3 separate regions of the Homo sapiens genome follow, and regions 1 and 3 are each linked to region 2. Evidence: promoter capture Hi-C in 16 types of primary human blood cells and fetal thymus (Javierre and others, 2016). All regions are on one chromosome and are shown on one strand. Each heading gives the region's core, a stretch centred on a gene start or on the middle of the fragment in contact. The rest is flanking DNA. Distances are from core to core; before and after follow the strand shown.

Region 1 (3,352 bases), core at 157-2,656, 1.5 Mb after region 2:
ATTGTATGGCGTTTTTATTTTATGGTGCTCACTGGAAAAATAAAGAACAAAAAATTATTCATACGGTTATTTAAAAAGATATCACCTGAAATATAAAAAAAACTCAAAGGACTTTTGTACATGTCGTGGGGCGGGGCTAAGTTGAATTATCCAGACTATATTTTCAAATCTGTATGTAGGCTATACACAAAAATCTTCGTCTATTTCACCATAATGCAAAGAGATAGGGTATTTGTTTTACTCAGAAAGAATTAAAATTAAACGTAAAGCAATACAAATTTTTATAATGTTAGAAAACTACCAAAACTACATAAAGGTATATTCTATGATGTAGAAATTTCATTCCTAAGTATATATCCAAATACACACACACGCATATGTTCGCTAAAGTACACCCAGAAGAATGCTCATATAAGTTTTATTTATAATACCCCAAACTGGAAACAACCAAAATGCGTATTAGTAGGAGAATAGTAAACTTGTTTATTTTATGAGATAAATACTACACAGCAATAAAAAAGAATCAACCACTGATAAATGCAAAAATATGAATGAATCAGGAATGTTGAAAAAAAAAAGAGAAGGCAGACACAAAAGCTCTGGTTCAACATTTAGACTTGTGTTTCAAGAAACTGATAACTTTAGTTCTTTCTCCTCTCGCTCTTTTTTTAGACTAATGGTCTATCCTGAAGCCTGGGTTCAGTTTTAGCAACCGTGAAATCCAGGAAGGTTTCCCATAAGAAAATGGGATGGAAGGTCTGGACCGAACACACACAGCCAACAGAGCGGAGGCTCTGAGGCTCACATTAATCAGGGAAAAGGAAGACAGACGGTCGAGCTGAGAAACTTCAGCCGGGTGAGGGGACTAATCCCTCTGTAACGGTTGTCAGTCTGAAAGGGCATCCTCACTCGGTTCTGGGCTCACCTCGTCTAGTTCCGAAGTCCTGGGCAGTCCGCTCACTCGAGCTGTCAGCGCGTCCTGCACTGGGAAACCAGCTGACTTGCCGACATACTTTTTCCACACCGCGGATCCGCGAACGTAGATTCGCCACATCCTTTTCTATTTCCTGGCATCTTGTAGAAAATTTCTCAGTCCAAGTGCCCCTATGTCCCAACCTGTTTCAATTTAACAATTTGAAAGGTGCAATAAGGTGTATTTCTATTGTTATTCTGTATTTCAGAGACAGGGCAAATCCGCCGTTGTGACGAAAGTGCAGGGACAAAGCACAAACTCGGCTCTGGTGGACCGGATACGGAAAAGCGGTGCCTTGGGGAGGGCGGGAGCAAATTCGCTTTCCCCACAGCGCGTGCGCCGCCGCAAGCATGGCTGGTGATGATTGGACGACTGGTAACAGGGGGCGGAGGGCTCCGAAGTCTGGTTTTGGGCGGGAATTGAAACCGCCGCTGAAGCCAACAAGAATTTGAGAACTGTAAATACCAAGCCTTGAAAGGGACCATGGTGCGGCCTGTGAGGTGGGTAGTTCCTGACATTCGTCGGGGGTGGGAGGAAAACTAAGGGAAAAGACATGAGACTAAGGGGAAAGGATCGAGTAAGACCGGAGGGCAGCGATGGTGGGGTTAGGATGGACGGTTATCAAGAACCCAGTCTCCAGTGAGAGCCACCCGTTGCTCAGAAGTATCCTAGCATCGTAGCTTTTTCCTTCTCTTTGCCTCCCTTCACAACCGTCGCCGTTTCTTTTACCAAGACCTTGTTAGCGTTTGAACAGCGCTTTACATTTCACCGAGCGCCCAATTATGTGTTATTTTATTTGTTTATCACTGTAGTTATTTGATATAGAAAGAGTAAGCATTCCTGTTGTATTGATTTAACATTTCTACGTATAGAGGGTAAGTTATCTGAGTCATACAGCCCAGTAAGTGGCAGGGCAATACTCAAACCTAAGTCATCTCACTCAAGATCCTCTGTGCTTTCCATCGTGGTATTAGAAACGATTCTTCTATTTACACAGTTGAGTGCCATGGAAGCCTATAGTTAGCCATTCATTTAATAAAGTTATTGAATATATTCACTTCTTTAGTGTACGAGGTGCTGGAGGTTACATTCCAGTGGGAGGTGAGGTTAGGGGGCCGAAAATAAGCCTCGAAATATGAGAGTGCGAAAGAGGAAAGCACTACTTTAAATATAGTAGTTAATATGTGACTCTGAGGCGATAATGCATGCACTGAGTCATGAATCAGGGTAGAGGGAATAGGAGCCAAGGCCCCATACTTGACCATATTTTAGGGACAGTCTAATGCTATAGGATTAACAAGCAGTGGGGAGAATCGTAGGGGGATTAGGCCAGAGAAATAGGCAGGTGCCAGAACAGATAGGGTCTTGTAAGTCTTAGAAAGGAGTTTAGGTTTTATTTTAAGTCAATGGGAAGTCAGTGGAGGGTTTTAAGTAGGGGAGAGGAATCTAAGTTTGCTTTTATAAAGGTCACTGGCTGTTGGTGGAGAATAAATGATGGATAGGGTGACCAGAACGGGAGCAGGAAAATCAGGTATTATATCATTGGAGAGCGGTTTGGGATAGGGTATTATTAGTGGGCATGGAATGGAACAGATGAATTTGGGATGTATTTCGGAGGCACTGTGGACAGAACTTGCTGATGAAGTAGATGTACAGGTAAGGGAAAGAAAGAATCAGAGATGACTCCACAATAGTTTTGGTCTGAGCTACAGGATGGATGATCTTTGTATTAAGATAGGGAAGACTAGGAAAAGGAAGGTTAGGAGGTGTGAGGGATCAAGATTTCTGTTTCGAACATGCTGAATTTGAAATGGGTTTTAAGCATCCAGGCAGTGGAGTCATAATCCCTTTGTAAGGAACAGCAGTTGTTAAAGTATGGTCTACAGACCTCTGTGGGTCCCTGGAAACTTCTCTAGAGGTCTATGAGGTCAAAACTCCTTTCATAACAATACTAAGATATGATTTGCCTTTTTCGCTGCTTTGTCATTTGCACTGCAGTGACCCCGATAAAACTGCTGGCACCTCAGAACAATTAAGGCAGTGGCACTAAATTGTACTACTAGTCTTTGCAATGTTTACTGCCATACTCTTAAAAGTAAAAAAAAAAAAAAAAATCATTTCAGTTAAGAATATGCTTGATGAAGTAGTGGAAATTATTATATTCATCATAGCTTAACCCTTAAGTATACTAATTAAAAATAGGCTATTGATTTTATTTTACTATTATTCAAGTTCAGAATTTATAAAGGGGTTTTCACATTTTATTCAGCTCTAACTTCTTTAACTCTGAAGAGTAAGAGAGTAATATGAGTGCACTTTTTAATAGTTTGCGTGAGGAAACAGGAAGTACACATAAAGCACTTCTGTATACTGATGCGT
Region 2 (3,113 bases), core at 175-2,674:
AACCTGTCTCAGCCTCAGTTTCCTCATCTGTAAAAATGTCGGGATGGTGATGCTACTACCTACCTCATGGTGTTGTTGTGAGGATCAGTGGGTTAGAACATGTAAAGTACTTAGAACTGTGCCTGGCACATAAACAGTACATGTTAGCTGTTAGCTGCTTTGCAAGTCACTTGAAACCTATGGCCGAATGTGAAGTGTTGGCGGAACCCCGCTCCGGCAGCGTGCACTTTCGCCACTAGGTGTCGCAATTCAGCAGGCACAGTCCTGAAGCTTGACTTGGGGTGGTTGGCTGGGACTTTAATTTTAGCCTATTGTCATTTTTGATTTGATTTGGTGATTTCAAGGGGATAAACTGACATGCTATCCTTTGAAGTCCCTGGGGATCCAGAAATTCCAGCAGAGTTGCTGACATCCAGGCCTGGAAGGAGCTGTTTGGAGTCCTGCCTTTGTTCACAGTTAAAATGGCATATAATTTATCATCCACGCCAGGATATTTCGAGAGTGAAAGGGGACTTAGGAACTATGCCAGGACAAGAGGAGTAAGTAGGATGTGCCCCCGAAACCTGGATACAGTCACCCTACCTATATCTAACCTCAGCATTTTTCAGAATCTCCTCCAGAAGGGAAATGCAATGACATTTCCTCAGAAGCCTGGTATGATAAGCAGTGACTTCATGCGTTTGTAAGTCCCTTCCCCAAGAGGGTGGTGCGTCATTGTCAGGTTTACTTGCGTTTAGTCCTCAGTGGACACTATCAGTGTGTCTGCTTCACAGACCACTAGTCACCTTTGTGTCCTTTATGCTGAATAATCCCATCTCCTCTACAGCTTTTCTTCAGAGCTTCCTTCCAACTGTCAGCCCCTCAGAGGCACTGAGGCATTCACCTCTGAATGTGGTGAAGGAGAGTGAGCAGTGAAGCCATTTTCTGGGCTATTGCTGAGGGATTTCTTCTAAGATTTCATCTATCTCTAAGACTTCAGAATTCCATTATTTCAGATTTGCTCTAATTAATTAATTAATTTGAGACAGAGTCTCACTCTGTCACCCAGGCTGGAGAGCAGTGGTATAATCATGGTTCACTGCAGCCTTGACCTCCTGGGCTCAAGCAATCCTCTCACCTCAGCCTCCCGTACAGGCATGTGCCACCACGCCCATGCACACCTGGCTAATTTTTGTATTTTTAGTAGAGATGGGGTTTTGCCATGTTGGCCAGGCTGGTCTCGAACTCCTGGGCTTGAGTGATCCACCTGCCTTGGCCTCCCAAAGTGCTGGGATGACAGGTGTGAGCCACTGTGCTCCGCCTATCTTTTTTTAAAGGGCAGGAGGACTTTGGGAGGCCAAGGTGGGAGGATTGCTTGAGGCCAGGAGTTCAAAACTAGCTTGAGCAACATAGTGAGGCCTCTGTCTCTACAAAACAAAACGAAAACGAAAACAAAAACAAAAACAAAACAAACAAAAACCCCAATTAGCTGGGTATGGTGGCATGCACGTGTGGTCCCAGCTACTTAGGAGTCTGAGGTTGGAGGATCCTTGAGTCCAGGAGTTGGAGGCTGCAGTGAGCCATGATGGCACCACTGCCCTCCAGCCTGGGTGGCAGAACAAGTCCCTGTCTCAAAAACAACAAAACAAAACAAAAACCAAAAAGGGCAGGAGGAAGCTAGCATTTGTAGAGCAGTCACCACACATCACATGTTGTGCTTTTACTCCATCATCTTGGTCAGCCCATCAACCCTGTGGAATTGGTTTTTTTTTTTTTTTTTTTTTGAGACAGTCTCGCTCTGTCGACCAGGCTGGAGTGCAGTGGCACGATCTTGGCTCACTGCAACCTCCGTCTCCCAGGCTCAAGCAATTCTCCTGCCTCAGCCCTCCGAGTAGCTGGGATTACAGGCATGTGCCACCACACCCGGCTAATTTTTGTATTTTTAGTGGAGACGGGGTTTCACCATGTTGGCCAGGCTGGTCTCAAACTCCTGATCTCAGGTAATCCACCCGCCTCGGCCTCCCTAAGTACTGGGATTACAGGTGTGAGCCACCATGCCCATCCCCATAATTGGTATTCTTATGCCCCATTCCACAGGTGAGAAAACAGGCCTGAAGAGGTCCCAGCCGATAAAAGCAGAGCCAGGATTCAGACAGGTGTGTCTGGCTCCCAAGCCCTGCGGCTACTCCCTCACCAGGCTGCGTCCAATGGTCTGCCAGTGAGTTGGCTTGCTGGCAGACAATCCTAGTATATCTCTTTCCCTGTCTGAGACCCAGTTTCCTTTTCTGGGTACATGTACCCAACTCTGCCGCAGTGACTGGAGAGATTGGGGCTGGTGGGGGTTCCTTGGGAAGACTTTGTTATAGGGGCATTGAACAGGGCTTTGGATGAAGCAAAATGTAGAAGGAGAATATTTTCCTTGTGGGGAAAGGGAGATCAGAAGGAAATGGGTTATGGGTTTAGTCTAATAGACAAAAACAAGGTTGCATGTGTGTGACGGAAAGGGGCCCAGAAGATGAGTGGAAACTTCCAGTCTAATTAGCAGAAAGCAAAAGTGACCCTAGTGATTATAGCCAGGTTTTAAAAACTTGTCCCCAGTCAAGCTTAGTGCAATGGTAGGGCACGTGGGAAGCACAGCATACAGTTTCTTTAAAATTTAAAAAAATTTCACTTTTAAAGACAGGGTCTCCCTCTACTGCCCAGGCTGGAGTACAGTGGCATGATCCTAGTTTACTGCAGCCTCCAACGCCTGAGCCTCAGCCTCCGGAGCAGCTGGGACTACAGGGGTGTGCCACCACACCCGGTTAATTAAAACATTTTTTTTTTGAGATGGGGTTTCCCTATGTTGCCCAGGCTGTTCTTGAATTCCTGAGTTCCTGAGCTCAAGCAATCCTTCCACCTGGGCCCCCCAAAGTCCTGGGATTACACGCGTGAGCCACCACACCTGGCCTAGAAGACATTTTTGATGACAGTAATGATGAGAAGAGATGGCGTTTTAGTGCTCTTTGGAAACAAGTTTAGGCCTTCTAGCTTTAAGAATCCGGGCCTATAATCCCAGCACTTTGGGAGGCAGAGGCAGGAGGATGGCTTGAGCCCGGGAGTTTGAGACCAGCTTGGGCCCAGGGAGACCACCG
Region 3 (3,068 bases), core at 516-3,015, 1.2 Mb after region 2:
CCTTTTGATGTAGTGGGGAACGCGTCCTACTAAAAAAAAAAAAAAAAAAAAAAAAAAAAAGTAATCTGCCCGGTAACAATCAGCGCGCAGTAGCAGGAGCCCCAGAGCTATTGGCTATGCAAATAGAGGGAGGGGAGACGGCGCCCCAAACTCTTCCTCACCCTTTTAAAGCGATATCCCCTCCTTTCCCCCCCACCACCCCTTCCGCCCCACCCTCGTTTAAAGAGGCTGGCTCCGGGGCCTGAGTTAATCGCTTGCACCTCTAGTTTATTCGCTCCCCTCCTCCGCCTTGCAGGGAACCTAGTGTACGGCTCACCCAGCCCGCGCCCCACCCCGCCTTGCTGGCTCTCCGCGCCCCTGCCCGGGCCCCCTCTCTCGGTGAGGGAGGCACTCAGTCGGCCTCGGTGTGCCCAGAGAGCTCGAGCCACGCCATGCCCGCTGCACGTGCCAGCTTGGCCAGCACATCAGGGCGCTGGTCTCTCCCCTTCCTCCTGGAGTGAAATACACCAAAGGGCGCGGTGGGGGTGGGGGGTGACGGGAGGAAGGAGGTGAAGAAACGCCACCAGATCGTATCTCCTGTAAAGACAGCCTTGACTCAAGCATGCGTTAGAGCACGTGTCAGGGCCGACCGTGCTGGCGGCGACTTCACCGCAGTCGGCTCCCAGGGAGAAAGCCTGGCGAGTGAGGCGCGAAACCGGAGGGGTCGGCGAGGATGCGGGCGAAGGACCGAGCGTGGAGGCCTCATGCCTCCGGGGAAAGGAAGGGGTGGTGGTGTTTGCGCAGGGGGAGCGAGGGGGAGCCGGACCTAATCCCTCACTCGCCCCCTCCCCCTCCCGGGCCATTTCCTAGAAAGCTGCATCGGTGTGGCCACGCTCAGCGCAGACACCTCGGGCGGCTTGTCAGCAGATGCAGGGGCGAGGAAGCGGGTTTTTCCTGCGTGGCCGCTGGCCGCGGGGGAACCGCTGGGAGCCCTGCCCCCGGCCTGCGGCGGCCCTAGACGCTGCACCGCGTCGCCCCACGGCGCCCGAAGAGCCCCCAGAAACACGATGGTTTCTGCTCGAGGATCACATTCTATCCCTCCAGAGAAGCACCCCCCTTCCTTCCTAATACCCACCTCTCCCTCCCTCTTCTTCCTCTGCACACACTCTGCAGGGGGGGGCAGAAGGGACGTTGTTCTGGTCCCTTTAATCGGGGCTTTCGAAACAGCTTCGAAGTTATCAGGAACACAGACTTCAGGGACATGACCTTTATCTCTGGGTATGCGAGGTTGCTATTTTCTAAAATCACCCCCTCCCTTATTTTTCACTTAAGGGACCTATTTCTAAATTGTCTGAGGTCACCCCATCTTCAGATAATCTACCCTACATTCCTGGATCTTAAATACAAGGGCAGGAGGATTAGGATCCGTTTTGAAGAAGCCAAAGTTGGAGGGTCGTATTTTGGCGTGCTACACCTACAGAATGAGTGAAATTAGAGGGCAGAAATAGGAGTCGGTAGTTTTTTGTGGGTTGCCCTGTCCGGGGCCCCTGGCATGCAGGGCTGGATGGAGGGAGAGGGGTGGGGGGTGGCGGGGGACCGCGTTTGAAGTTGGGTCGGGCCAGCTGCTGTTCTCCTTAATAACGAGAGGGGAAAAGGAGGGAGGGAGGGAGAGATTGAAAGGAGGAGGGGAGGACCGGGAGGGGAGGAAAGGGGAGGAGGAACCAGAGCGGGGAGCGCGGGGAGAGGGAGGAGAGCTAACTGCCCAGCCAGCTTGCGTCACCGCTTCAGAGCGGAGAAGAGCGAGCAGGGGAGAGCGAGACCAGTTTTAAGGGGAGGACCGGTGCGAGTGAGGCAGCCCCGAGGCTCTGCTCGCCCACCACCCAATCCTCGCCTCCCTTCTGCTCCACCTTCTCTCTCTGCCCTCACCTCTCCCCCGAAAACCCCCTATTTAGCCAAAGGAAGGAGGTCAGGGGAACGCTCTCCCCTCCCCTTCCAAAAAACAAAAACAGAAAAACCTTTTTCCAGGCCGGGGAAAGCAGGAGGGAGAGGGGCCGCCGGGCTGGCCATGGAGCTGCTGTGCCACGAGGTGGACCCGGTCCGCAGGGCCGTGCGGGACCGCAACCTGCTCCGAGACGACCGCGTCCTGCAGAACCTGCTCACCATCGAGGAGCGCTACCTTCCGCAGTGCTCCTACTTCAAGTGCGTGCAGAAGGACATCCAACCCTACATGCGCAGAATGGTGGCCACCTGGATGCTGGAGGTAGGTCGGGGGGTGGCGCTCGCCAGGAGCCAGGACCCCTCCGGATGCTCGGGTCCCCGGCCGGAGCCCTAAACCTGGGAGAGGGCAATCCCCGCGCCGGCCTCCCGGCTCCTGTGCGGGAGTTTACCGCGCGCCTTCTGGCGAGACGCGTGGCTTTATTTCTGTTCCTCTCCAGATAAACTGGGGAGGCAGAGGGGGGAGGAAAATCTGGGAGAAGCGAGGCTGTCCTGGGCGGGGGTAGGGGAGCATCCCGCGCGCGTGTTCCTGCATGTGGCTGCCTCTTCTTCCCACCCCCCTCGCGACCTGTCTTTTGCGAAGCCGCCGCGGCTGCTTGCGCTGCGGCCAGGAAGAGAGTCGGGGCCTGAAATCGGGACCCCGAGTAGAAAGGCAACCCCCCCCAAAAGGCCAGAGCAAATTCGTCTTGGCCTCAGGTCCCCGCCTGTGGTCGCGACTCCGCGCTGGCACTTCACCGGGGAGGTGGAGGGAGGAGGGAGAAGGAGAGAAACGGGGAATTCGGGAGCCCCGGAAGTCCCATTGAAGAAACGCGTGTTTCAGGGGAACCCAAAAGAACCGCTTCTTGCCCCTCACTCCAAGTCTTTGCCCAGCGAGCCGTGTGCCCACGTATGCACAGCTCTGGACCTGCCGTGGTTTCGCCATGTTGCTTTGCAAACTCCCTTTGGAAAGGCTGGGAAACGTCGCCCGCTTACCCTCGCACCCCATTATCCCGGCCACCCCACTTCTAATCGTGCCCTCTCCCCCACCCCCCACCTCACGAAGATTACTTACAGTTTGGTTTTCCAGCTTCCTCGGTGCGGAGATTTGGGTGGGG

Evidence for each region. Contacts are between HindIII fragments. The CHiCAGO score rates a contact against its expected background, and 5 or more counts as called.
Region 1: the fragment with the promoter of RAD51AP1 here is called in contact with a fragment that was not itself captured in region 2 in 1 of 17 cell types (fetal thymus); the score reaches 5.1 in fetal thymus.
Region 3: a contact is called between the fragment with the promoter of CCND2 here and a fragment that was not itself captured in region 2, in 1 of 17 cell types (fetal thymus). The highest score is 8.4, in fetal thymus.

Annotation. Positions count from the first base shown.
Region 1 is chr12:4,537,484-4,540,835 of GRCh38, forward strand. It overlaps RAD51AP1 (RAD51 associated protein 1), which reads left to right and starts at 1,407. Exons shown (of 9, transcript NM_006479.5): 1 at 1,407-1,473. The coding sequence starts at 1,457. FERRY3 (FERRY endosomal RAB5 effector complex subunit 3) reads right to left here and starts at 986. Exons shown (of 14, transcript NM_020374.4): 1 at 926-986. RefSeq lists enhancers at 621-1,230, 1,231-1,839 and a silencer at 966-1,015. The HindIII fragment of the contact is 5,379 bases long and covers 1-3,352 here.
Region 2 is chr12:3,073,353-3,076,465 of GRCh38, forward strand. No RefSeq gene overlaps it. Among named protein-coding and RNA genes, the nearest start is that of TSPAN9, 2.5 kb to the right of the region's middle. RefSeq lists an enhancer at 91-385 and a silencer at 167-316. The HindIII fragment of the contact is 2,312 bases long and covers 269-2,580 here.
Region 3 is chr12:4,271,997-4,275,064 of GRCh38, forward strand. CCND2 (cyclin D2) reads left to right here and starts at 1,766. Exons shown (of 5, transcript NM_001759.4): 1 at 1,766-2,239. The coding sequence starts at 2,045. The region is part of intron 1 of CCND2-AS1 (CCND2 antisense RNA 1); the gene reads right to left. RefSeq lists silencers at 1-72, 57-176, 957-1,076, 1,607-1,696. The HindIII fragment of the contact is 5,777 bases long and covers 1-3,068 here.